4 separate regions of the Homo sapiens genome follow, and all the other regions are linked to region 4. The links are contacts of gene promoters, found by promoter capture Hi-C in human tissues and cell types (Jung and others, 2019). All regions are on one chromosome and are shown on one strand. The core of a region is centred on a gene start or on the middle of the fragment in contact, and the rest is flanking DNA. Distances in the headings are between cores, read along the strand shown. Region 1 overlaps ZNF778 (zinc finger protein 778). Region 2 overlaps ANKRD11 (ankyrin repeat domain containing 11). Region 3 holds the start of TUBB3 (tubulin beta 3 class III). Region 4 holds the start of CHMP1A (charged multivesicular body protein 1A).

Region 1 (6,202 bases), core at 1,403-3,902, 420 kb before region 4:
CTCAGCTTCTCAGGAGGCTGAGGCAGGAGAATCACTTGAACCCAGGAGGTGGAGGTTGCAGTCAGTCGAGATTGTGCCACGGCACTCCAGCCTGGGTGACAGAGCAAGACTCTGTCTAAAAAAAAAAAGGACAATGAGATATACTAAAATGGTCCAATATGTTAATTAAAACATACTACTAAAAAAAGTGTTAAATAGCCTGAAAGAATTGTGATAAAGGGGAAACTGAGTACTGGGAACAAAAGAGAACAAGTAGGTAACGAAGTGGTGGCCAGGTGCGGTGGCTCAGGCCTGTCATCCCAGCACTGTGGGAGACCGAGGCGGGCGGATCACTTGAGGTCAGGAGTCAGACCAGTCTGGCCAACATAGTGAAATCCCGTCTCTACTAAAAATACAAAGTTAGCCAGGGGTGATGGTGGGAGCCTATAATTCGAGCTACGTGGGAGGCTGAGGTAGGAGAATCACTTGAACCGGGGAGGTGGAGGTGGCAGTGAGCTGAGATCGCGCCACTGTACTCCAGCCTGGGTGACAGCAAGACTCTGTCTAAAATAAAAAATAAAAAATAACTGGTAGAGCTGAATCCTAGATAATCAAACACATTAGTGCACATGATCAGCTGGGCACTCACGCCTGTAATCCCAGCACTTTGGGAGGCCGAGGCGGGTGGATCACTTGAGGTCAGGAGTTCCAGACCAGCCTGGCCAACACGGTAAAACCTTGTCTCTACTAAAAATACAAAAATTAGCCAGGTTTGGTGGCTCATGCCTGTGGTCGCAGCTACTCAGGAACCTGAGGCAGGAGAATCATTTGAACCCAGGAGGTGGAGGTTGCAATGAGCCAAGATCGTGCCACTGCACTCCAGACTGGGCAACAGAGCAAGACTTCATCTCAAAAAAAAAATATGATCTACACATGCTATTTAAAGATAGGACAGATAAAAAGTGTGACGCATCAGTATGTCATCTACAAGACACTTCAAATACAATGACGTAAATAGGTTAATAGTACCATGTAAACATAATAAAGTGGAGAGGCTGTATTTAACATCAGAAAAAATGACTTCAGCACAAAGAAAATTACCACAGGGTGTTGAGTGCAGTGGCTGATGCCTGTAATCCCAACACTTTGGGAGGCTGAGGTGGCTGGCTCACTTAAGGCCAGCAGTTCAAGACCAGCCTGGGCAACATGGCGAAACCCTGTCTGTACTAAAAATACAAAATTAGCCGGGCATGGTGGCAGGCACCTGTGATCCCAGCTACTTGGGAGGCTGAGGCAGGAGAATCTCTTGAACCCGGGAGGTGGAGGTTGCAATGAGCCGAGATAGCGCCATTGCACTCCAGCCTGGGCAACAAGAGCAAAACTCCATCTCATAAATAAAAGTTAAAAGCAAAATGTGATAAAAGACCACAAAAATGAAAAATTACAGTGTTAATTATATTGATTCAAATTAGTTATGTTAAATATTAGCAAATAATACAAAACCACATTGAGAAAATAATAAACCATGACCAAGTGGAATTTAAGACTGCAACTGGTTCAATTAGAAAGCCTATTAAATACTACACCATATGAATCCATCTAAGAAGATAAGGCATGTGATTGTATCCATAGGTGTTGATGAAGCCTTTGGGAAAATGTGGTACCTACTATTGATAGACGCACTCAAAATAGGAATTGGTGAATACTTTCTTAGGACGCCTGTGTCTGTAGCTATATGTGTGTGTGTGTGTACTGGAAGTGTTACCTAATGCAATTGGGCAAAACAGATTTGCAAAAAAGTGAACTATCTCTTGTGTGCATTATATGATATACATGGAAAGCCCTGTAGAATCAGTAAAAACATTTAGTAAGTTAGAGGAGGTGAAGTTGCCGTCAAAACATAGATGGTCTTCATCTACACAACCAATAACCAGTGAGGTGATATGATAGTAGAGAAAACTTATTTATAATAGCAATAAAACAATGCTTAGAAATAAATTTATCAAGAAATGTATAAAACCTAAATGAGGAAACTTTTTGTTTGTTTGTTTGTTTGAGACAGAGTCTCGCTCTGTCATCCAGGCTGGAGTGCAGTGGCATGATCTCGGCTCACTGCAACCTCCACCTCCTGGGTTCAAGTGATTCTCCTGCCTCAGCCTCCCAAGTAGCTGGTATTACAGGTACCTGCCACCACGCCCGGCTAATTTTTGTATTTTTAGTAGAGACGGGATTTCACCATGTTGGCCTGGCTGGTCTCAAACTCCTGACCTCATGATCTGTCCGTCTCGGCCTCCCAAAATGCTGGGGTTACAGGCGTGAGCCACCGGGCCGTGCCCGGCCATGAGGAAACTTTAAAACACTTTTTTTTTTTAGATGGGGATTTGCTCTGTCCCACAGGCTGCAGTGCAGTGGTGTGATCACAGCTCACTGCAGCCTCGACCTCCAGGGCTCAAGCGATCCTTCCTCCTCATCCTCTCAAGTAGCTGAGACTACAGGTGCACACCACCACACCAGGCTAATTAAAAACTTCTAGGCCAGGCGCGATGGCTCACGCCTGCAATCCCAGCACTTTGGGAGGCTGAGGCGGGTGGATCACGAGGTCAGGAGATCGAGACCATCCTGGCTAACATGGTGAAACCCCATCTCTATGAAAAATACAAAAAGTTAGCCAGGTGTGGTGGCGGGCGCCTGTAGTCCCAGCTGCTTAGGAGGCTGAGACAGGAGAATGGTGTGAACTCAGGAGGTGGAGCTTGCAGTGAGCCAAGATCACACCACTGCACTCCAGCCTGGGTGGCAGAGCAAGACTGTCTCAAAAAAAAAAAAAAAAAAAAAAAAAAAAAAAAAAAACCACATAGACTTGAACAAACGGGCAAATTCCTTGTTCTTTGATGGGATGACAACATCATAAAAATCCCATTCTTAATTCAGAAATGAAACATAATCCCAGTTACAACAGCACCAAAAGCTTTTTGTGGAGTTAATGCAGATTGACGCTGAAGTTCATGTGGGGGCACAGACGTCTGATGGTGCCCAAGAAACCCAGGAGACAAAACTGATGCTTCCCTGTGGACACTGCAGCATCCTCTAAAGCCGCTGTAATTAAGGTATGTGACACATGACCAGGAAGCAGACAGATGGACAAAAATGGAATATCTGGAAATAGACCTAGCAACATGGAAATTTAGTTAATAAAGTGGGTATTTCAGATCAGTGGGGCAAAAATGCAGTTTGTAATGAAAGGTGCTAGGACAACTGGTGAGCTGTCTGAACAAGATGGTTTTACATGTATAAATTACACCGTTCAGGTCGAGTGTGGCGGCTCACGCCTGTAATCCTAGCACTTTGGGAGGCCAAGGGGGGGCAGATCAGTTGAGATCAGGAGTTCGAGACCAGCCTGGCCAACATGGTGAAACCCCATCTCGGGCAGGCGCAGTGGCTCGCGCCTGTGATCCCAGCACTTTGGGAGGCCGAGGCAGGCGGATCACGAGGTCAGGAGATCGAGACCATCCTTGTTAACACAGTGAAACCCCGTCTCTACTAAAAATACAAAAAAATTAGCCGGGCGTGGTGGCGGGCGCCTGTAGTCCCAGCTACTCGGGAGGCTGAGCCAGGAGAATGGCGTGAACCCGGGAGGCGGAGCTTGCAGCGAGCCGAGATCGCGCCACTGCACTCCAGCCTGGGCAGCAGTGAGACTCCATCTCAAAAGAAAAGAAAAGAAAAGAAAAACCCCATCTGTACTAAAAATACGAAAGTTAGCCAGGCATGGTGGTGCGGGCCTGTAATCCCAGCTACTCAGGGGGCTGAGGCAGGAGAATTGGTTGAGCCCGGGAGGTGGAGCTTGCAGTGAGCCGAGATGGCGCCACTGCACTCCAGCCTGGGTGACAGAGCGAGACCCCGCCTTCCCCCCGCCCCCCAAAAAATTACACCGTTCACAGGAATAAGCTGCAAATGGATCAGGGATCTAAATGTGGACAAAACGTGCACACGTGGGTGATGTGAATGGTTTCGGGGCGATTGGGAAGAGGGCCTGGCCAGCAGGGGGCGGTAGCGCAGGCAGACCGGGTTCCGCGGTGCCTCGCCGGCTTCGGGGTGGGGGTCACCGCTCAGAAGGGGAGGAGAGCGAGGGACTTCCGGGGGGAAGGGAGGAGAGCGAGGGACTTCCGGGGGGAAGGGAGGAGAGCGAGGGACTTCCGGGGGGAAGGGAGGAGAGCGAGGGACTTCCGGGGGGAAGGGAGGAGAGCGAGGGACTTCCGGGGGGAAGGGAGGAGAGCGAGGGACTTCCGGGGGGAAGGGAGGAGAGCGAGGGACTTCCGGGGGGAAGGGAGGAGAGCGAGGGACTTCCGGGGGTAAGGGACTCGGTGAGGAACTCGGGGGATCGGAGAGGGGCTCGTGTGCTGGGCGACAGTGACACACTCAGCAGCCCGGCGGGAGCCGCGGTCGGTACCGTCTGAAGGGCAGCCGGGGCTGGGGGACCGACAGCTCTCAGGTGTCGGTTTTTCTGTGGCTAGCGGATGTTTGGCACCATTTCACAGGGCACACAGGGCAGACGGGACCTAGATGACGACAGATCTGCGTGTTTGGGCTCTGTTTGAAACAGACCTCAGCCAGAGTCTTGAAGAGCAGAACCCGGAGTGTTGAAGTCACAAGAGATCAACATCCCTACGGTGTGAAATCCTGAAAACGGCAAATCCCAAAGGACGAAACGCCCGAAAATGATGTCATCCTTTAAGTGTTTTCTTCTTTTTTCTTTTCTTTTTCTTTTCTTTTCTTTTTTTTTTTTTTTTTGAGTCAGGATCTCGCTCTGTCGCCCAGGCTGCAGTGCAGTGCCGCTATCGTGGCTCACTGCAGCCTCAGCCTCCTGGGCTCGAGTGGTCCTCCCACCAGAGCCTCCCACACTGCTGGGATTACAGGCACCAACCACCTTGCGCAGCTAGAGAGTAATTTTTAAACTTCTTTAAAAGACAGTTAGACTGGACATGGTGGCTCACGACGGGAATCCCAGCAATTTGGGAGCTCAAGCTGGGGGGATCGCTAGAGTCCAGGAGTTTGAGACCAGCCTGGGAAACAGGGAGACCGTGTCTCTACGAAAAAAAGTTTAAAAAATTAGCCGGATGTGGTGGCTCACGCCTGTGCTTCCAGGTATTCTGGAGGCTGAGGCAGGAGAATGGCGTGAACCCGGGAGGCGGAGCTTGCAGTGAGCTGAGATCGCCCCACTGCACTCCAGCCTGGGTGACAGAGCTAGACTCTGTCTCAAAAAAAAAAAAAAAAAAAATATATATATATATATATACACACACACACACGTATGTGTGTGTGTGTATATATACATATATATTTACTATATATTTATATATGTTATATATATAAATATAGATAGATGATCAGGAAAGACGTGAGAATGTCTTCAGTTGACACCTCAGGCTGAGCATCAGCACAGAGGCAGCCCACAACAACAAAAAACACAACAGTCAACAAAACCAAAACCCAGCAAACCCTGGGGAATGGGGAGAGTCTGACTTTCAGAGTTATATTATTAGATTCAAACGTCTAATTTTTTTTTTTTTGAGACGGAGTCTCGCTCTGTCGCCCAGGCTGGAGTGCAGTGGCGCGATCTCGGCTCCCTGCAAGCTCTGCCTCCCGGGTTCACGCCATTCTCCTGCCTCAGCCTCCCGAGTAGCTGGGACTACAGGCACCCGCCACCACGCCCGGCTAATTTTTTTTGTATTTTTAGAAGAGACGGGGTTTCACCGTGTTAGCCAGGATGGTCTCGATCTCCTGACCTTGTGATCTGCCCACCTTGGCCTCCCAAAGTGCTGGGATTACAGGCGTGAGCCGCTGTGCCCGGCCTCAAACGTCTAATCTTTAACAAAAGTTCCAAGCGGGCCAAGGGCACAGATGCTGCCTGCACCTGCGCAGCCACCCACCGTCGACAGGAGAGCAGAGGCACCAGGCCTGCTCCCACCACAGAGAGAAACGGGCTCCCCAGCCCAGCTCTGGGCTGGTCAGCAACCCCCACTCCCCACCCTGCCTGCTCAAAAGAAAGGGTCCTCGTGCCTCCAGCCCCCTCCACCCTCCCTCCAGGACCTTCCTGACCATGCGCTGGGCCTGTGCAGGTGTTGAGCCACACCCACGCCCTTCCAGGGGGCGGGGTCTCGAAGGGGAGAGCAGGTGCTATAGTCAACAGGAGGGAGGGCTTCTGGCCGAGGTGGCAAGGAGGCTCCAG
Region 2 (6,521 bases), core at 3,126-5,625, 350 kb before region 4:
CGAGGAGAGGAGGAAGAGTCTGCAGAGGTTTCTAGGGAAGGAGATAGTGTGGAAGTGACTGTGGCTCTGGTCCTGCCTGGGAGGAGATCTACAGGGGAGGGGCCTGGCCTTGGGCTGGCCCTGCCCTGCGTGGGATCTGTGCCCTGCGTGGGATCCCTGCCCTGTGTGGGGTGCGTGGGGTCTGTGCCCTGTGTGGGGTGCCTGCCCTGTGTGGGGTGTGTGGGGTCTGTGCCCTGTGTGGGGTGCCTGCCCTGTGTGGGATGCATGGGGTCTGTGCCCTGTGTGAGGTGCCTGCCCTGTGTGGGGTGTGTGGGGTCTGTGCCCTGTGTGGGGTGCGTGGGGTCTGTGCCCTGTGTGGGGTGCTTGGGGTCTGTGCCCTGTGTGAGCTGCCTGCCCCGTGTGGGGTGCGTGGGGTCTGTGCCCTGTGTGGGGTGCCTGCCCTGTGTGGGATGCATGGGGTCTGTGCCCTGTGTGAGGTGCCTGCCCTGTGTGGGGTGCGTGGGGTCTGTGCCCTGTGTGGGATGCCTGCCCTGTGTGGGGTGCCTGCCCTGTGTGGGATGCGTGGGGTCTGTGCCTTGTGTGGGGTGCCTGCCCTGTGTGGGGTGCGTGGGGTCTGTGCCCTGTGTGGGGTACCTGCCCTGTGTGGGCTGCGTGGGGTCTGTGCCCTGTGTGGGGTGCCTGCCCTGTGTGGGGTGTGTGGGGTCTGTACCCTGTGTGGGGTGCGTGGGGTCTGTGCCCTGTGTGGGGTGCCTGCCCTGTGTGTGGTGCATGGGGTCTGTGCCCTGTGTGAGGTGCCTGCCCTGTGTGGGGTGTGTGGGGTCTGTGCCCTGTGTGGGGTGCCTGCCCTGTGTGGGATGCGTGGGGTCTGTGCCCTGTGTGAGGTGCCTGCCCTGTGTGGGGTGCGTGGGGTCTGTGCCCTGTGTGGGGTGCCTGCCCTGTGTGGGGTGCGTGCGGTCTGTGCCCTGTGTGGGGTGCCTGCCCTGTGTGGGGTGCGTGGGGTCTGTGCCCTGTGTGGGGTGCCTGCCCTGTGTGGGGTGTGTGGGGTCTGTGCCCTGTGTGGGGTGCCTGACCTGTGTGGGGTGCGTGGGGTCTGCTACACGCTTGGTGAGAAACTGCATCAGGGCTTCCCGCCGTGTGTTGCTAACATCCCCACACACGTGAGTGCCTTGGGACCCTCGTCAACACACTGAGCTGAGGCCACTGGTCCACGGCACACTGCAGTGCACATGCCCTTCCTGGCCAGAGGCTCCCAGGGGCGCCATGCTCTCCAGGCACCTGCCCCGCCTGCGAGCACAGCCTGGCCCCTGCTGCACTCTGCTCTCTCTGCCCGCTCGGGTCCACTGCAGCTGAGCGGGTGGGAGAAGCCTCTTCAACTTCACACACTTGTCGCCTCTAGCACTGGGCAAGGTCTGGCATTCAGAGTTCCAAGAAGTCCCACAGATACCAGTGGCTAAGTCTGTCTTCCCTCCAGGAATGGGGAAGCAGGAGCCGTCAGAACAGCCGTCTCCTATCTGAGGCACCAGGAACAAACATGACGTCAGGAAAAGACTGAAGGTGCCAAGCACCTAACGCTGAAGGAACCAGCATGTGCCTGGCAGCACTGCAGAGAGCACACCCCAGGCACCAGAGACCAGGGTGTCATTCACAGGTCAAAGCAAAATAAGAAAATCATAATTTTTCCCCTTGTTCCAAAGAAACATCCACGTGCAGAGGGCAGGCAGCTTCGGCCCATGGCGCTCCTGACGAGGGCTCCCTCGTGGCTGCCCCAGGACAAGCAGGACCCCGGCGGTCCTAGGCAGGGAGAAGCGAGACTCAGGGTCACAGACGAAGGCGCAGGAGAAACAGCGGGGCAGGAGGCTCCCCAGAACCCCAGGGAGGCCAGGCAATGATGCACAGCAACCTCAAAAACATTCGCTGGTTGACTGATTATTTATTTATCTATTTTATTTTTTATGGACAGGGTCTCACTCTGTCGCCCAGGCTGGAGGGCAGTGGCGCAATCACGGCTCACTGCAGCCTTGACCTCCTAGCCTCAAGGGATCCTCCCGCCAAAGTGCTGGAAGGGTGAAGGGTGTGAGCCACTGTGCCTGGCTACTTTTAGATTTTTTAAGTTTTGGGAAACCTTACACATATAAAAAAGTAGACAAAGTAGTATCATTTGAAGCAAATCCCAGATATCATATAATTTAATATGAATGCTTTCAGTGATAAGGCTTTTTAAACTGAGACCACCCTTGAGGTGGTAGAGGACAGACTTCAAAAGCAGATACAAGAGGCCCCGGGCAGACAGGGCAGGCAGAGCAGGGCAGGCAAGATGGGCTAGAAGTCCCAGGGCAAGCTGGTCTGAGAGGGCTCGGTGGGCAGAGCTGTCTTGGGGCCGGGACATGGCAGGTGCCTTCCCACTCCTTGCTGCACCCACAGCCCTTACAGAGGCCTGGTCCTAGGACGGGCTCTTGCCCAGCGCTCTGGAAGACACAGAGGTGATGCTGTCACATGCTCACGTCTGCCTGGACAGCCTCCAGGCTGCTGTGCAGGGACCACGCGGATGCACAGCCTCGGGGACTGCTTTAAACTGGGCTGATTCACAACAGACAGAATCACATTGTTCTTGGCAGGCGGCCCCCAGCCCTGACTAAGCACCGCAGAGGCCACATCTCCATGGCACTGGACCGCGGGCAGGGCCGACTCAACCCTGCATCTGGGAGGCGGGAAGCCATCCCCACAGCAACATGGAGGTCTCTGAGGGAGACGTGCCAGCCTCTGCCACTTGGACACAGCCAAGGCATCCGGCACGGTGGTGACCCTGCATCCCTCCCACCATAGCAAGGGGCACCCACACCCCTCCAGAGAGGCCTGACTGCTGGGGACCAGAGAAGAGTCTCTTGTCTGTCACGTGTCAGTTAACCCTGCACCAATGTTTCTCTTCTCATCCCTGCTGGTGTGCGCCTCTCCCTCCACCCCACTCATTTCTGAGCAAGAACGGCTCCTCTGGGGGAAGGAGGGGACGCGGCGTGTGTGAGAGCCACAGCGCCCAGCAGCCTCCCGGCCCAGGGTGGGGCTGAACGCACTGGAGTTGGACTCGCTACTATTTATTTATTTAGAGACGGAGTCTTGCTCTGTTGCCAGGCTGGAGTGCAATGGCGCAATCTTGGCTCACTGCAACCTCCACCTATTGGGTTCACGCAATTCTCCTGCCTCAGCCTCCCGAGTAGCTGGGATTACAGGCACCCGCCGCCACACCTGGCTAATTTTTGTATTTTTAGTAGCGACAGGGTTTCTTCATGTTGGTCAGGCTGGTCTCGAACTCCTGACCTTGTGATCTGCCCGCCTCGGCCTCCCAAAGTACTGGGATTACAGCCGTGAGCCACCGCGCCTGGCTGTGGACTTGCTACTTTAAGAGGGTCCTGGTTAAAATGCAAGCTTCTAGGATAAGCAACGCTCCACACTCATACATCAGAACAATCTTCCTAGGAAATCTAGTTTTGCAACATTAAACAAGAAGTTATTAAAATTGGCCCCGAAAGGGTGATAAACACAGGAGGACAAATACTACGTTTCTTAGGTCTTTTTGTTACAATCCTTGCCTGGAAAATTCTATTTTCAAAATGTTCTTTACTGTTTTCCCACCTCACAGGGATTCTCACCTACCCTGTCCTCACCTAGGCCTGCCCCTCACAGAGTAAGGACATGGTGTTCAACACGCAGTTCCAGGAGCACCCAGGGCTGTGGCAGAAAATATCCCAGAGACCCACAGAGAGCGAGAATGGCCTCAGTGGGCCAGCACGGCTGGCACCACGCAGGCGCTAACCATCAACAGACAGACCCCGGAAGCTTCTGACAACACAACAGGGCCCTGGGTGAGAGCTTCTCTGCACCATGATGAAACGGCCACCACAAAGAGACCTGAGCAGCCAGATGGGGTGGGCACCAGGTAGCCCTGGGAACGCCACCTTACCAAGTGGGATCATTCTCCCAGGAAGCAGAAGCAGATGCTTGTCTCATTAACCCTTTCAGCAACACCTCCAGAGACATCACAGAAACACCTCAAAGGTCTGAGGCCAACTCCCGCATGGCCACTGTGCAAAGAGCTAACAGCTACGTATCAACATGACGGCCTTCTACAACCAAAACCAGCATGGGGACCAAAGACGGCAAACACAGGGTTTCAGGCCTGGACTGACTTTCTCTAGGCCTAAAGCCCGAGAGTACACAGCACCGCTGGGAGCTCCAGGGAGTCACCCAGGCCCTCCCTTCTGGGGGCTGAGGTCCCTTACACAACCCATCCACACATTCTGTCCACTCACTTCCCCGTGTCTCCCAGTGTTCTTCCTCGGAGCTGTCCGCTGCTGGGAAGAGGAGTCCTCCTGGGCCTGTGCTGGTGTCCCTGCAGCCTTCCTGTCCCCAGATGTGCTGGCCCAGAGACAGGAGCCATGTGCCTGGCACTGCACCTGCCCCTCACTTCCCATCTGGGAAAACCAGCCCTCTCTGCTGGCCTTTCACTCAGCAGAGTCTCCACCTGGCTACTGTGAGCACATCCCTGGAGCACCCCACATAGGACAGGAGGGGCCACAGGCCTGCGGCAGCCACACAATCATAAAGGCTGAAGCTTGCTGAGCTGTGCTGACAAAAGCTGGGGTGTGGATCCTCTTTACTGGCTGTGCCTGCTGCCGTTCCTCTTCAACAATCTCCTTCGTATCACGAGCTCTTCTCACCTGGACCACTTCCCCCATCTGCTCTCAAGCCCGCATCCTGGCACAGCCTCTACGCCTTGTGCTATGGCTGCATTCAAGAAGTCTCAGGAAGCCAGGGACAGAGCCGAGGGCCTGACTCAGCACTCTCCCGGTTCACTCCAGGCTTTGTGGCCAGCTTAGTGCTCTACTGCCTCCAACCTTCCCCAGCAGGGCTGTAGAGAAGCTGGATGACCAGGAGGACAAGGAGGCCTCTGGACACAAGAATCACCAAAGAGCAAGCACGGCCAGCGCAGAGGCCTCTGGGCTCCCTGCAAGCAGCTCAAGACAGAATCCACTGGGAAGGTGTCACTGCAGAAGGCGCTGACCCCACCAGGAGCGTGTGCACATGAACACACATGGGCTTGCACACGGGCACACAGGCATGCACACATGGGCACACAGGCACACACGTACACATGGGCACACACAGGCATGCACACACACACGGGCGCATACACAGGCATGCACATGCACACACATGCAAACGCACACATGGGCATACACACATGAGCGCACATATATACAGGCACACACAGGCACACAAAAGCATACACATACTCAGGCACACATGGGCACACATACACGGGCATAGACGGGCACGCATACACAGGCACACATACAGGCACACACATGGGTACACACAAGCACATACACGGGCACACACATACATGGGTACATACAAGTACATACACACACGGGCACACACACGGGCATACATACAGGCACACACATGAGGGCATGCACACAGATACACGGGCATGTGCACATGGGCACACATACACACAGGCATACACACTTGGGCACACACTCTGGCACAGGCACACAGCACACACATTCCTGCTCTGCAGCCTCAGACCCCGCCTGTGCTTGGGAAGACCTCCCTGCCTCCTGCTCACTTTTAGGGCTCCCTTTGGTTTTTACTACAAGCAATGGAGTTTCTTCCTGTGCCTTTGTGGCCCTGAGGGGAACCACTGTCTCCCTCCCGTGTCCAGCTGTCAGAAGACCCACAGGTGAGCAGCCCCATACCTCGCCCAGGGCTGGACATGCACCGGGTGCATCTCCACGTGTGTGGGACCCAAGAGTGAAGCTCTCCAATCGGCCCCATGGGCCTGAGCCTCGGGTGCAAAGGAGGTGGCATGTGGGGGCCTGTGCTCCGCCCCTGCTGCCTCTTGCCTGGACGGCGTGCAGGGTGCTAGAGTGCGTCCCAGTGCAAAGCCGGAGGTGCGGGGGCCAGGGACGCCCTGCCTGGGCTGCTCCGGGCTGCCTGTGGAGGGCTGACTGCAGGAGGGGCCGCGGGCTGGTACCTGTGTCCGAGTCCTTCTGCTCCCCATTGGCGCCCGCGGTGAAGGGCAGCTTCCGCTTGCTGGCTCGCTCCCTCACCTCCTTCCCGCCATCGCCACGCTCCAGTTTTGGGGTCTTGGTTAGAGAAACTTTATCTTTATCCTAGAAAAGAAAGGGATGCTTTCAGTCGTGATGTCCAAATTACATTCTCAAGCTCTCAAGATTTTGTTTCATATGCCAGGAGAAGCGCATCTCTTATTTGGGCAATGAACACCCTCCCTGCACCCCAGGGCGTGGCTGTGTGAGGCTGGTCACCGACCGCAGAACCTTCACCCAGAAGCCCGGGGTCGGGCTGTGGCTCAGCCCTGACTCTGGCCCATTTCTCATCCTGCGCACCGGAGGGACGCTCAGGAAATCGCTGGTGTGTGTGGAGAAAGCAGAGGAGACACACACGCGCTACCTCTCACTCCGCAGACACGCGCTACCTCCCACTCCGCAGACACGCGCCAC
Region 3 (4,278 bases), core at 1,779-4,278, 270 kb after region 4:
CCCGTTTGTCAAAGAGGATGGACTAAATGATCTCTGAAAGTGTTGAAGCGCGGACCCTTCTGGGTCCAGGGAGGGGTCCCTGCAAAACTCCAGGCAGGACTTCTCACCAGCAGTCGTGGGGAACGGAGGAGGACATGGGGAGGTTGTGGGGCCTCAGGCTCCGGGCACCAGGGGCCAACCTCAGGCTCCTAAAGAGACATTTTCCGCCCACTCCTGGGACACTCCGTCTGCTCCAATGACTGAGCAGCATCCACCCCACCCCATCTTTGCTGCCAGCTCTCAGGACCGTGCCCTCGTCAGCTGGGATGTGAAGTCTCTGGGTGGAAGTGTGTGCCAAGAGCTACTCCCACAGCAGCCCCAGGAGAAGGGGCTTTGTGACCAGAAAGCTTCATCCACAGCCTTGCAGCGGCTCCTGCAAAAGGAGGTGAAATCCCTGCCTCAGGCCAAGGGACCAGGTTTGCAGGAGCCCCCCTAGTGGTATGGGGCTGAGCCCTCCTGAGGGCCGGTTCTAAGGCTCAGACTGGGCACTGGGGCCTCAGCCTGCTTTCCTGCAGCAGTCGCCCAAGCAGACAGCCCTGGCAAATGCCTGACTCAGTGACCAGTGCCTGTGAGCATGGGGCCAGGAAAGTCTGGTAATAAATGTGACTCAGCATCACCCACCTTAGCCCCTTCCAGAAAGTGCTTGAAGTTTGCGGGTGGAGGGATGGGGGAGGGGAAGGTGGGCAGGGGTGAGAGTCGAGAGGGAAGAAAGGAGTCCCGGAAAACGTGGCTGCCTCCCCAGGTGAGGAAGCCACAGCCCCAGAGGCCCCAAATGCCTGGGGAGTGTGGAGGTCCCAACCAGGCTTGCGCTGACCCTGCTTCTCGGTTTTCTCTCCGTGCTGACAAACCCCAGCCTAGAGGAAGGACGAGCAGGTGCAGCAGGGCCCCAGTCCCCTCCACTCTTGACGCTGTCCTAGCTGCAGAAGAGGCGGGTTCCCAGCCTTCCCTGTGACCACATGTGACCTCAGCCGGGACACATCCCTTTGCTGGCCCTGGCCCTGAGTCCCTCCAGCCATGATGAGCCGTGAATGGGACCATCCCTGTCCACTCTGAGATGCCTGGAAGGGGGCTCAGTGCAGGTGGGCTGGGGGCTGGGTCTGCTGTCTGCCCAGCACTGCCATTCTGGGAGTAGGCAGGTGGGGAAGGGGTCGGGGGTGGAGGGTCTGTGTTCAGCCAGTCCTGGGAAATGCTTGATGTGAGGCTTCTGAAGATGGCAGTGAGGCAGAGGCCCAGCCGGCGGAGAAGTCCCTGGGAGTGAGTACCTGGGGATGAACTATGCTGCCTGGTGCTGGGGAGCAGTGGCGCCCCTGGGCCATCCCTCTGCTGAAACCTGGGCGTCTCGCTGAAGAGACCACCTCCATTTCCTCTGCAGAGACTGAGCACTCAGTCAGCCCCCTTCCTGGGACAGGCTCAATGGAGGCTGCAGGGCCATCAGCCGACTCCTACGCAGGCTCAGTCAGCAGCCCCCTGGCCAGCCCCACCCCTGACTGCCGGCCTCAGAACTGGGAGCTGCTTCCTGGCAGGGCCCGCCTCTGCTGGGAGACCGGACGGTGAGTCAGCCTTAAGCCCGGCACCAGACCCCTCTGAGGATGGAGCAGGAGCTGGCTGCCCTGAGGCTGCAAAACTTCTTCCCTCGTGGAGACAGGGAGGCACCTCAGACACTCACCCCGGACTCCCTTGAACAGGGACAGGGAGGAACCCCAGGCAGCTAGACCCCAGCAGCAGCCACACGAGCACACTGTGGGGCAGGGAGGGGCATCTCTTGAGAACAAAAGATCCATTTCTCGACTTTCCAAACTGGAGAGCTTCTTGAGAGAAAAGAGAGAGACAGGTACAGGTCCACGCCACCCACACACAGCCCTGTGCACACAGACCGGACACAGGCGTCCACAGGCAAGTTCGCAGCTGCTCATTTTGTGAAGTGAATGCTGATTTGGGGGCCGGGTGGGGTTCGTCTGTACATCGTGCACTGTCAGACCCTTCCTGAAGGATTTTTGTTACTGAAGTATCAGAAGGCCCTTGTTCTAAGGTGGTGGCACTGTAATATCTGGCCCAGGAGGAGGTCAGTGCCGTGCCGGCGAGTCCTTTGCTCCCTTCCTTCTCTGACCAGTAAACGCATCTCCAGTCGCTCCCCCGAGGCCCCCCTGCACGCAGTCTCCGACCTCAGAGAGTGAGTCAGATAGAAGCCGCTGCCCACCCTCCCCCACCCTGGCCGGGTTCTTGCCTGGCTTGTGCGTCCTTGTGACAATTCCTGACACGGATGCGCACCGGGCAGTGGCACGTCCAGGTGCTGTGCGCGCCCGGGCCCACAAAGCTCCTTTGGACGCTCATGGCAGCCCCTTGGTGGAGGAGGTCGGGTGCCCACCCCCTCCCCGCCCACTGCGGAAGCCGGCGACCCACGGAGCTCGCTCTCGGCCGCCGCCACCCCTCTGTGTTCGCGCCCTTCCGAGCTCTGATCCGACGCTTTGTTTCTTCTCAGTGGGTTCAGGGCCTGGGCCAGCCTTTACCTACCTCCCCCACCCAAAACCGGCAAAAGCTCAGAGCACCTTGTCTGCCAAAAGACAGGGAGCTGGGATGGTGCGGGTTGGTCTCTAAACCGGCGTGGGGAAAAAAGACCCTCCGTACAAAGCCGCAGGGTGGGGCTGTCGCAAGGGCGGAACCGAGAGGGTAGCTGGGGGCGGGGTTCCCAGGGCCAAGAGGGGCCATTGTCCTCCCTGGAGCCCGGCGCCCCCACAGCCAGCTCCTCTGGGAGACAGCCCCTCCTTTCGAATGCGCGGGGCCCTCAGACCGCGCCCGGCCCAGCGCTGGGGGATCCTTGGCTGCGGGAGGGGCGCCGCATTGCGCGCGGCGGGCGGGGACGCGCGGTGCGGAGCCTGCGGGCCGGGCGGGGCTCTGCGGCGGCGCCTCCCGATTGGCCACCCGCGGTGACATCAGCCGATGCGAAGGGCGGGGCCGCGGCTATAAGAGCGCGCGGCCGCGGTCCCCGACCCTCAGCAGCCAGCCCGGCCCGCCCGCGCCCGTCCGCAGCCGCCCGCCAGACGCGCCCAGTATGAGGGAGATCGTGCACATCCAGGCCGGCCAGTGCGGCAACCAGATCGGGGCCAAGGTGAGGCTGCGCGCCCCGGCCTGTCCCGGGCCCCGGGGCGGGAGGAGGGAGGCGCCGTGCCCCGCGGGCCGCACCTCCAGCTGCCCCCGCCCCTGCGAACCTGCAACAAAGGGATGCGCCCAGCGCCGCGCCGGGCGGCCGGGACGCGGGGCCCCCGCCCTGGGACTCTCGCCTGCACCTCTCTGCCCCTGCCCAGGTGACCTCGGGCTGTCGAGGCGCAGCTCACGTCAGTCGCGAAGCCTCAGCCCCCTCCACACCTGCGCCCCCTCCACACCTGCACCCCCTCCACCGGGCCTCCGCAGGTGCAGCTGGGAGCCCTGTCTGGGCGTGGCCCTCTTTTTTGGGGCCGCGGCATAGCCTTGAGTGAGACGGGTGGGGTAGGCAGGTTTGGGTGGGGTGGGGGGTTCTCCTCACAGCCGTGATTTCCTCGGCCCGAACCCCCCACTGGAGTAGCCGAACGTCCCCCGAGAGGCTAGAGCCGCCCCGATTTCCCCAGCCTGCTCCGACACCCCTCGGCGTCCTAGCTCCACCCTGTCCCTTTGTTGGAGGGGTTGGGCCTGGACTCGAGATGACCTTGGTCCAGGACCAGGCTCTCCATCGGCGCAGCCGCTCCTGGGCAACCCCCGCGGGGCTTGACCGCGCCCACCCAGGGTCTACCAGTCTGGGGATTGGATGTGGGAACAAAGCCGGGCTGTGGGGTGTGGAGGCTGCACCGTGGCGCGCCCCTCCCTCCATTGTTAGCCCACCTCGCAGATGTTGGGGCCACGCAGAAAGGGGCGTTGGTGCAGCTGTGCAGGGACCCCTGCCTAAATCATTAAGGGGACGTCGTGTCCCCTGGTCCTGGGAGGCTGTCCCTGGCCCAAGGTCACACAGCAGGTGCGAGAGAGCTGGGCTGGCCCTTGGTTCTCATCCCCTGCAGGAGCCAACCTGGGGCTCGGGCGGGGCGGGTTGGGGGCGCTGCTTGCCAAAGGATCTGCCCTCCGAACAGTGTTGGGGAACAGGGGATCGGGGGGGGAGGCTGGCTTTGTCAGGACCAAGGCCAGGGACCCAGCTCAGGGCTGGTGCAGCGCTGATTCTGGGAAGGAGGGGGTGCAGGAGACGGTCCTGGAGGGGAAGGGGCCAGAGAAAGGCAG
Region 4 (6,198 bases), core at 1,551-4,050:
ACTCCAGCCTGGGCAACAGTGCAAGACTCCGTCTCAAAAAAAAAAAGAAAAAATATTTTTTTTAAAAAGTAGGATTGATCTCAATTCATTCAACTGCTAAATTTGGAGAGCGACCCTGACCCCAGATTCCTGAAAGGGCTTTACCACACTAGCCACAACGAGGAAATGGAGCCTGTAAAAGAATGAGGTTACTGAGTGTTCACAAATGCACACCAAGGCTCCAAGATGAGATCTCCCGGGGTTCCAGAAAGCTCTGGGCATCGTTCAATCTATCGCCTGTCAGTGCAGGCGTGGTCAAGGCCAAGTTCAACCTGTCATCTATCAGTTCAGGTGTGGTCACGGCCAAGGTTATCTGTGACTGGAAAACAGCCAGCCTGACCCAGATGGCACAGTGCAGGCCAGGCGGGCCGTCCCACCCAACTCACTGTGGGATGCTGGCCAAACCGCCCTCCTCATCTCAGCTTTCCCTCACCTCAGCTTTCCCTCACCTCAGCTTTCCCTCACCTCAGCTTTCCCTCACCTCAGCTCTCCTCACCTCAGCTTTCCTCACCTCAGCTTTCCCTCACCTCAGCTTTCCTCACCTCAGCTTTCTCTTCCAGCCGTGTGTGGCAGCACAAAAACCCAGCTAAGGCAAAATCTGACTCTGAGGAAATCTGACATGGGCTTGAGAGAAGTCCCCTCAAAAGAGTTGAGTGAGCTGTGGAGTGAAAAGCCACAATTTTTCTTTTTTTTTTTTGAGACGGAGTCTCACTCTATCACCCAGGCTAGAGTGCAACGGCACCATCTTGGCTCACTGCAACCTCTGCCTCCCAGGTTTAAGCGATTCTCCTGTCTCAGCCTCCCAAGTAGTTAGAATTACACGTGCACGCCACCAGGCCCAGCTAATTTTTGTATTTTTAGAAGAGACGGGGTTTCACCATGTTGGCCAGGCTGGTCTCAAACTCCTGACCTCAGGTGATCAACCAACCTCGGCCTCCCAAAGTGTTGGGGTTACAGGCGTGAGCCACCACATCCGGCCTCCCAAAGTGCTGGAATTACAGCCGTGAGCCACCGCGCCCGGCCTCCCAGAGTGCTGGGGTTACAGGCCTGAGCCACCACACCCGGCCTGGCCAGCATATTTTTTGTGGCGGGAGGTAGATGTTATCTTTCATCTTCTCTCAGGGCAGAAAATCTCTACACATTTCCTTCATGATGATGACACGGTGGTACTATAGCTTTTCACACTTCTAACTAAAAGAATTTTTTTTGAGACGGAGTCTCGCTCTGTCGCCCAGGCTGGAGTGAAGTGGCGCGATCTCGGCTCACTGCAAGCTCCGCCTCCCGGGTTCACGCCATTCTCCTGCCTCAGCCTCCCGAGTAGCTGGGACTACAGGCACCCGCCACCACGCCTGGCTAATATTTTTGTATTTCTAGTAGAGATGGGGTTTCACTGTGTTAGCCAGGATGGTCTCGATCTCCTGACCTTGCGATCCGCCGGCCTCGGCCTCCCAAAGTGCTGGGATTACAGGCGTGAGCCACCGCGCCCAGCCCTTCAAAAAGTATTTTTAAAAGCCTGCCCATCACACCAGCCCAACGATGTTTCAGCAAACATAGGACTTCATTTTGCCAGATTCTTCCTGTTCTTTGGTATCCCTGAGCACACAGCCGGCTAGCCCCAGATGTAGAAGGTAAGAATTAGGGCGACCCATTGAGCACAGAAACGCTTGTGCTGGCTCCTGCTCAAACCTCTGCTTCCCCACATGGAGAATGGACGCAAAGAGCTGCTGTGACCAGGGCCTGGCACTCAGGGAGCGCTTTCTGTCTGAGTCCTTCTGATTTGCAGTGATGCTGTTTGGGGCAGGGGGTGCAACTGTCACTTTTTCTGGTGCCCTCTGACCCGACATTCCAAGTCCCGAAAGGCCGAACAGGCATCGCACAGTCCCCCCTACCGAGCTGGCGGGAAAGGGCGCCTGACGCTGAGGAGTGCCAGGGGCGGGGGAAAGGGTCCTGGGTCGGTGGTCGGGGGTCCAGGCCCTGGGCAAGGGGTCCTGGGTCGGGAGTCTAGGTCCCGGGTCCATGGTTGGGGGTCAGAGGTCGAGGCCCCGGGGAAGGCATACCGGGTTGAGATTTGGGGATGGAGGCCCCGGGGAAGGGGTCCCGAATCGGGGGTCGGGGATCGAGGCCTGGGGGGAGGGGTCCCGGGTCGAGGGTCGAGGCCCGGGGTAAAGGATCTCGGGTTGGGGGTCGGGGGCCTGGGAAGGGTCCCGGTCGGTGGTCGGGGGTCGAGGCCCGGGAGAAGGGGTCCCGGGTCGGTGGTAGAGGCCCTGGGGAAGGGGTTCCGGGTCGGGGATCGAGGGTCGAGGCCCGGGAAAAGGGGTCCCGGGTTGGTGGTCTAGGCCCTGGGGAAGGGGTTCCGGGTCGGGTATCGGGGGACGAGGCTCGGGAAAAGGGGTCCCAGGTCGGTGGTCGAGGCCCTGGGGATGGGGTCCGGGTCGGGGATCGGGGGACGACGACCGGGAAAAGGGGTCCCAGGTCGGTGGTCGAGGCCCTGGGGATGGGGTCCCGGGGGATCGACGGTCGAGGCCCGAGCTCTCCTGAGTCCTGCCCGCGGCCCCAGGTGGGCGGAGCCCACGCCAGTGGGAGAAGCGGCCCCGCCCCGCGCGCGAGTCCCCGGAGGACGGCCGCGACCTCTTACCGTCCATGGCCACAATGACAGGAGCAGCACTCGGAGAGGGAGAAGGGACGCCAACTCCGGGCGGTGTCAGGTCCCGGCGGCGATCGAACCGACCAAGCTGCACCCGGCGGGGACTTCCGGGGTCGCCGCCCCACTTCCGGTCGCACGGGATGCTCTCGCGAGAGGATGGTGGCCGGTCCCGCCAGAGGGGCGGGGCGCGGCTGCGCGGCGCGCGGTCGCCATGGTGACGCACGCCGCTGGCGCGAGGACCTTTTGTGAGTCGCTCCCGGCTCCGCGGCCGCGGAGGTGTGGGGACCCGGGCTTGCGTCGGAGGGGGCGGTGGGCTCACCCATGGGCCTTTCCAAAAGCAAAGAGAAACCCAGGAAAGGTAAAGGAGGCGCAGGCGCTGGGCTCCCCGCGTCTCCGCCCCTGGGCGCGGGCCCAGGGCGGGGCTGGGCTGGGCGGGGCGGTGTGAGCGCAGGCGCCAGGCTCGGCCCGGTGCGAACCGTTCCTGCCGCCGAGTCCGCCACGGACGGCGCGTTTCCCGCCTGAGGCGGTTACGGAAACGCGGAGACTCGAGACTTGAAGCCAGCTTATTCTGGACCCACGCAGGCGACTGAAGACGATGGGACCCACTGCCCTGCATTCGGTAAGTCCCGGGTCTAACGGATGATCCATATATTTCAGGTGAGGAGCAAAAGAAGGGATCCACCTATTCAGTTCCAAAATCTAAGGAGAAGTTGATGGAGAAGCATTCCCAGGAAGCCAGGCAGGCAGACAGGGAGTCGGAGAAGCCTGTGGACAGCCTCCACCCGGGGGCCGGGACAGCCAAGCACCCGCCGCCGGCAGCTTCGCTGGAAGGTAGGAGACGGCGGGAGGGAGCGAAGCGAGGTCAGTGGCTTGGAGGATCTGGGGCTGGGGTGAGGAGCCTACTGTAAGACCCTACCGGATGGACACTAGTAGCAGGCACGCGCCGTAAAGATGAAACTGGTTTGTTTTGGGAACTTTATGTAGGAGGTAAATATCCAGAAATCTTAGTTGAAAACATAAGTTTAATGAAAATGTAGGTCAGTTCCCGAGTGATAAGTGCGTACCAGGTGGTCGAGGGGCTGGGGCAGTGTGCGTGTGTCTCACCTGAGGTTCTCCTCGAGGGCTGGGTATCTTGGTGCCACTGAGAATCCCTGAGCCTCCGCACACTGGAACAGAGCATTGGGAGGCCGTCCCAGGCTGGACTGTAGCTCTCCGAGGGCTGTGGGGATAAGTACATTGCGGAGGGTGACCGAGGAGTAGAACCTGGGTGCGACAAAGGTGTCTTTTATAACAGCCTAGTGTGGCCAGACCTTTGGGTGTGTGTGGGGAAGATGAGGCCCCAAAAGTAGGAAGAAGCTAGAATACAAAGTTTTCCATCAGTTTTACCACGTGGAGCTGGAAGCGTTAAATATTTTAAACAACGGAGGTGCTGCCTGGGGCGGTAGTTCACACCTGTCCTCCCAGTTATTTGGCCGAGGCAGGAGGATCTTTTGAGCCCAGGAGTTCAAGACCAGCTTGGGCAACATAGTGAGACCCTGTCTCTACAAAAAATAAATATTTAAAAATAAAAAACAAGGGCGGCATGATGAGGTCTGTGCCTACCAACAGGGGAAGCCAGTTCGCAGGGGAGGTGGCCCGGTCAGAGACCCATTGCTGTGGCCCAGTGGGAGCCAGCAAGGCCTTGCAGTAGGAATTGCAGAAGGGTCAGGCAGGGAGAACCCGCAGAGCCTGCCGTCCGAGGAGATTGGGGGCCTGTGCCAGGAGGAGGTGTTTTAAGTTTCATCACAAGAATGAACCACTCGGCTGGGCGCAGTGGCTCACGCCTGTAATCCCAGCACTTTGGGAGGCCGAGGCGTGTGGATCACTTAAGGTCAGGAGTTCAAGACCAGCCTGGCCAACGTGGTGAAACCCTGTCTCTACTAAAAATACAAAAATTAGCTGGGCGTGGTGGCATGTGCCTGTAATCCCAGCTACTCAGGAGGCTGAGGCAGGAGAATTGCTCGAACCTTGAACCGGGACCCGGGAGGCAGAAGTAGTGGTGAGCGAGATCGCACCACTGCACTCCAGCCTGGGCTACAGAGTGAGACTCTGTCTCAGAAAAAAAAAAAAATAATAAGGAGAGAACCACTCGGGTCAGACAAGAAAGAATGTCAGGGGGATGACTGGCCTGCTAGGCAGAGGAGCTGGGCCTGGACTGCTTCACACTGACACGCTTGTAGGATCAAGGGCTGAAAGTAGGAGGCTCTGGGCCTTGGACTTGGAAGAAAGACTTGGATTTGAATTCCCAACTTTGGAACCTCCCACTGGAGGGTGGAACCCCTCACAGGAGGGCGCAACCCCCCACCGGAGGATGGAACCCTGCAGGAATAGCATCACCCTTGGGTGGCAGTTTGGAAAATGCTACCTGTCTGTCACGGTGCTTTTAGCTGAAAGTTACAGAAAAGCTCACTAAACGCAGCTTTAACACAGGGATTTAATGTCTCACGAATGAAGGGTCAGAGGTGGAGCTTCCAGGTTGGCTTGTTAGCACAACAGTGACATCAAAGACTTTGCGTGTCTCTTCTTGACCACTCTCAGTGTCCACAGCCCCCGATGAGTGTACAGCCCCCCACACGCAGGCAGGACTGCATCTACTGCAAAGGCATTGCTCCTTGCTTCATATTAGCAAGGAAACCTTTCCCAGGAAGGCTTCGCCTGCCCAGCCTCTGCAGGACTCATTCAATGGTGCAAATTCACCAGGGGCTGGAGGGAGCTGTGAAGCATGGGAGTGGGCAGGACCTCTGCCAGTAACGGAAGTGGGGGAAGGAGGACCGCCTGTTGGAAGGGCCCCAGCAGTGTCTGTCACACCAGAGGGTGGGGGAGGAAGGTGGACATGAAGGGAAAACAGCAGAGCAAGAGTGAGAACAGAGTTTCAGCAGATAAAATGAAGTGTGCACGCTCTCCATGCAGTGACGGGCTGAGCGACAGTGAGGAGCAGGCTGCTGACTCCCTTGCCACACCGTGAAGGAGTCCCAAAGGTGGGACACTGAGTGAGACAAGCCAGAGGAAAGACCACTCATGTTGCAGTTCCCTTTCCATGGAATGTCCAGAAAAGGCACATTTACAGAGAGAAGCAGATGAGTGGTTGCTGGGCAGAAATGGGAGCCGGCCACAGCTGAGCACAAGAGGACTTTGGAGGGTGATGGAAATGGTTTTCGACCTGAATCTGAACATGGGAAGCACTGCAGTTTAGTAGTCCTGGTCCCTAAGCCCTTCCAGCCCAGGAGCCAGACCTGTGAGCAAACAAGCCTTTAGTGATTCCAGGCTCTGGCTGGAACCTTGAGTCTTCTCAGCTTGGGGCATGCACCTCAGGGGGAGCCAGCATCAGTGTCCAGCCCCAAGAGCTTCCCTGTACGTCTCAGTGAGTCTTCACATGCCTCCAACTGCCTGGACAACCACACGTGATACCTGTCCTGCCAAACGTGTCCTGAACCCATAAAATCCAGAGAAAAGAAAATCGTTTTAAACTGCTGAGG

What was found. Contacts are between HindIII fragments. The study calls those that stand out against the background at their distance.
Region 1: a contact is called between a fragment that was not itself captured here and the fragment with the promoter of CHMP1A in region 4, in 1 of the 25 tissues and cell types used here (dorsolateral prefrontal cortex).
Region 2: a contact is called between a fragment that was not itself captured here and the fragment with the promoter of CHMP1A in region 4, in 1 of the 25 tissues and cell types used here (dorsolateral prefrontal cortex).
Region 3: a contact is called between the fragment with the promoter of TUBB3 here and the fragment with the promoter of CHMP1A in region 4, in 1 of the 25 tissues and cell types used here (lymphoblastoid cells).

What each region holds. Positions count from the first base shown.
Region 1 is chr16:89,236,955-89,243,156 of GRCh38, forward strand. It overlaps ZNF778 (zinc finger protein 778), which reads left to right. Exons shown (of 7, transcript NM_001201407.2): 7 at 1-187. Among named protein-coding and RNA genes, the nearest start is that of ZNF778, 22 kb to the left of the region's middle. RefSeq lists a silencer at 4,074-4,163 and an enhancer at 4,671-5,187. The HindIII fragment of the contact is 4,092 bases long and covers 607-4,698 here.
Region 2 is chr16:89,299,172-89,305,692 of GRCh38, forward strand. ANKRD11 (ankyrin repeat domain containing 11) reads right to left here. Exons shown (of 13, transcript NM_013275.6): 4 at 6,035-6,173. It overlaps LOC124903757 (keratin-associated protein 5-2-like), which reads left to right. Exons shown (of 2, transcript XM_047435030.1): 2 at 1-1,816. The coding sequence starts at 261. The coding sequence ends at 1,190. Among named protein-coding and RNA genes, the nearest start is that of ZNF778, 85 kb to the left of the region's middle. The HindIII fragment of the contact is 5,718 bases long and covers 1,517-6,521 here.
Region 3 is chr16:89,920,314-89,924,591 of GRCh38, forward strand. It overlaps TUBB3 (tubulin beta 3 class III), which reads left to right and starts at 3,029. Exons shown (of 4, transcript NM_006086.4): 1 at 3,029-3,145. The coding sequence starts at 3,089. It overlaps MC1R (melanocortin 1 receptor), which reads left to right. Exons shown (of 1, transcript NM_002386.4): 1 at 1-659. RefSeq lists enhancers at 1-855, 1,742-2,625, 2,548-2,842 and silencers at 2,696-2,785, 2,806-2,955, 3,036-3,285. The HindIII fragment of the contact is 8,728 bases long and covers 1-3,875 here.
Region 4 is chr16:89,654,908-89,661,105 of GRCh38, forward strand. It overlaps CHMP1A (charged multivesicular body protein 1A), which reads right to left and starts at 2,801. Exons shown (of 7, transcript NM_002768.5): 1 at 2,675-2,801. The coding sequence starts at 2,681. It overlaps SPATA33 (spermatogenesis associated 33), which reads left to right and starts at 2,929. Exons shown (of 3, transcript NM_001271907.2): 1 at 2,929-3,041; 2 at 3,341-3,514. The coding sequence starts at 3,005. RefSeq lists silencers at 2,528-2,587, 2,808-3,197 and an enhancer at 2,913-3,082. The HindIII fragment of the contact is 33,607 bases long and covers 1-6,198 here.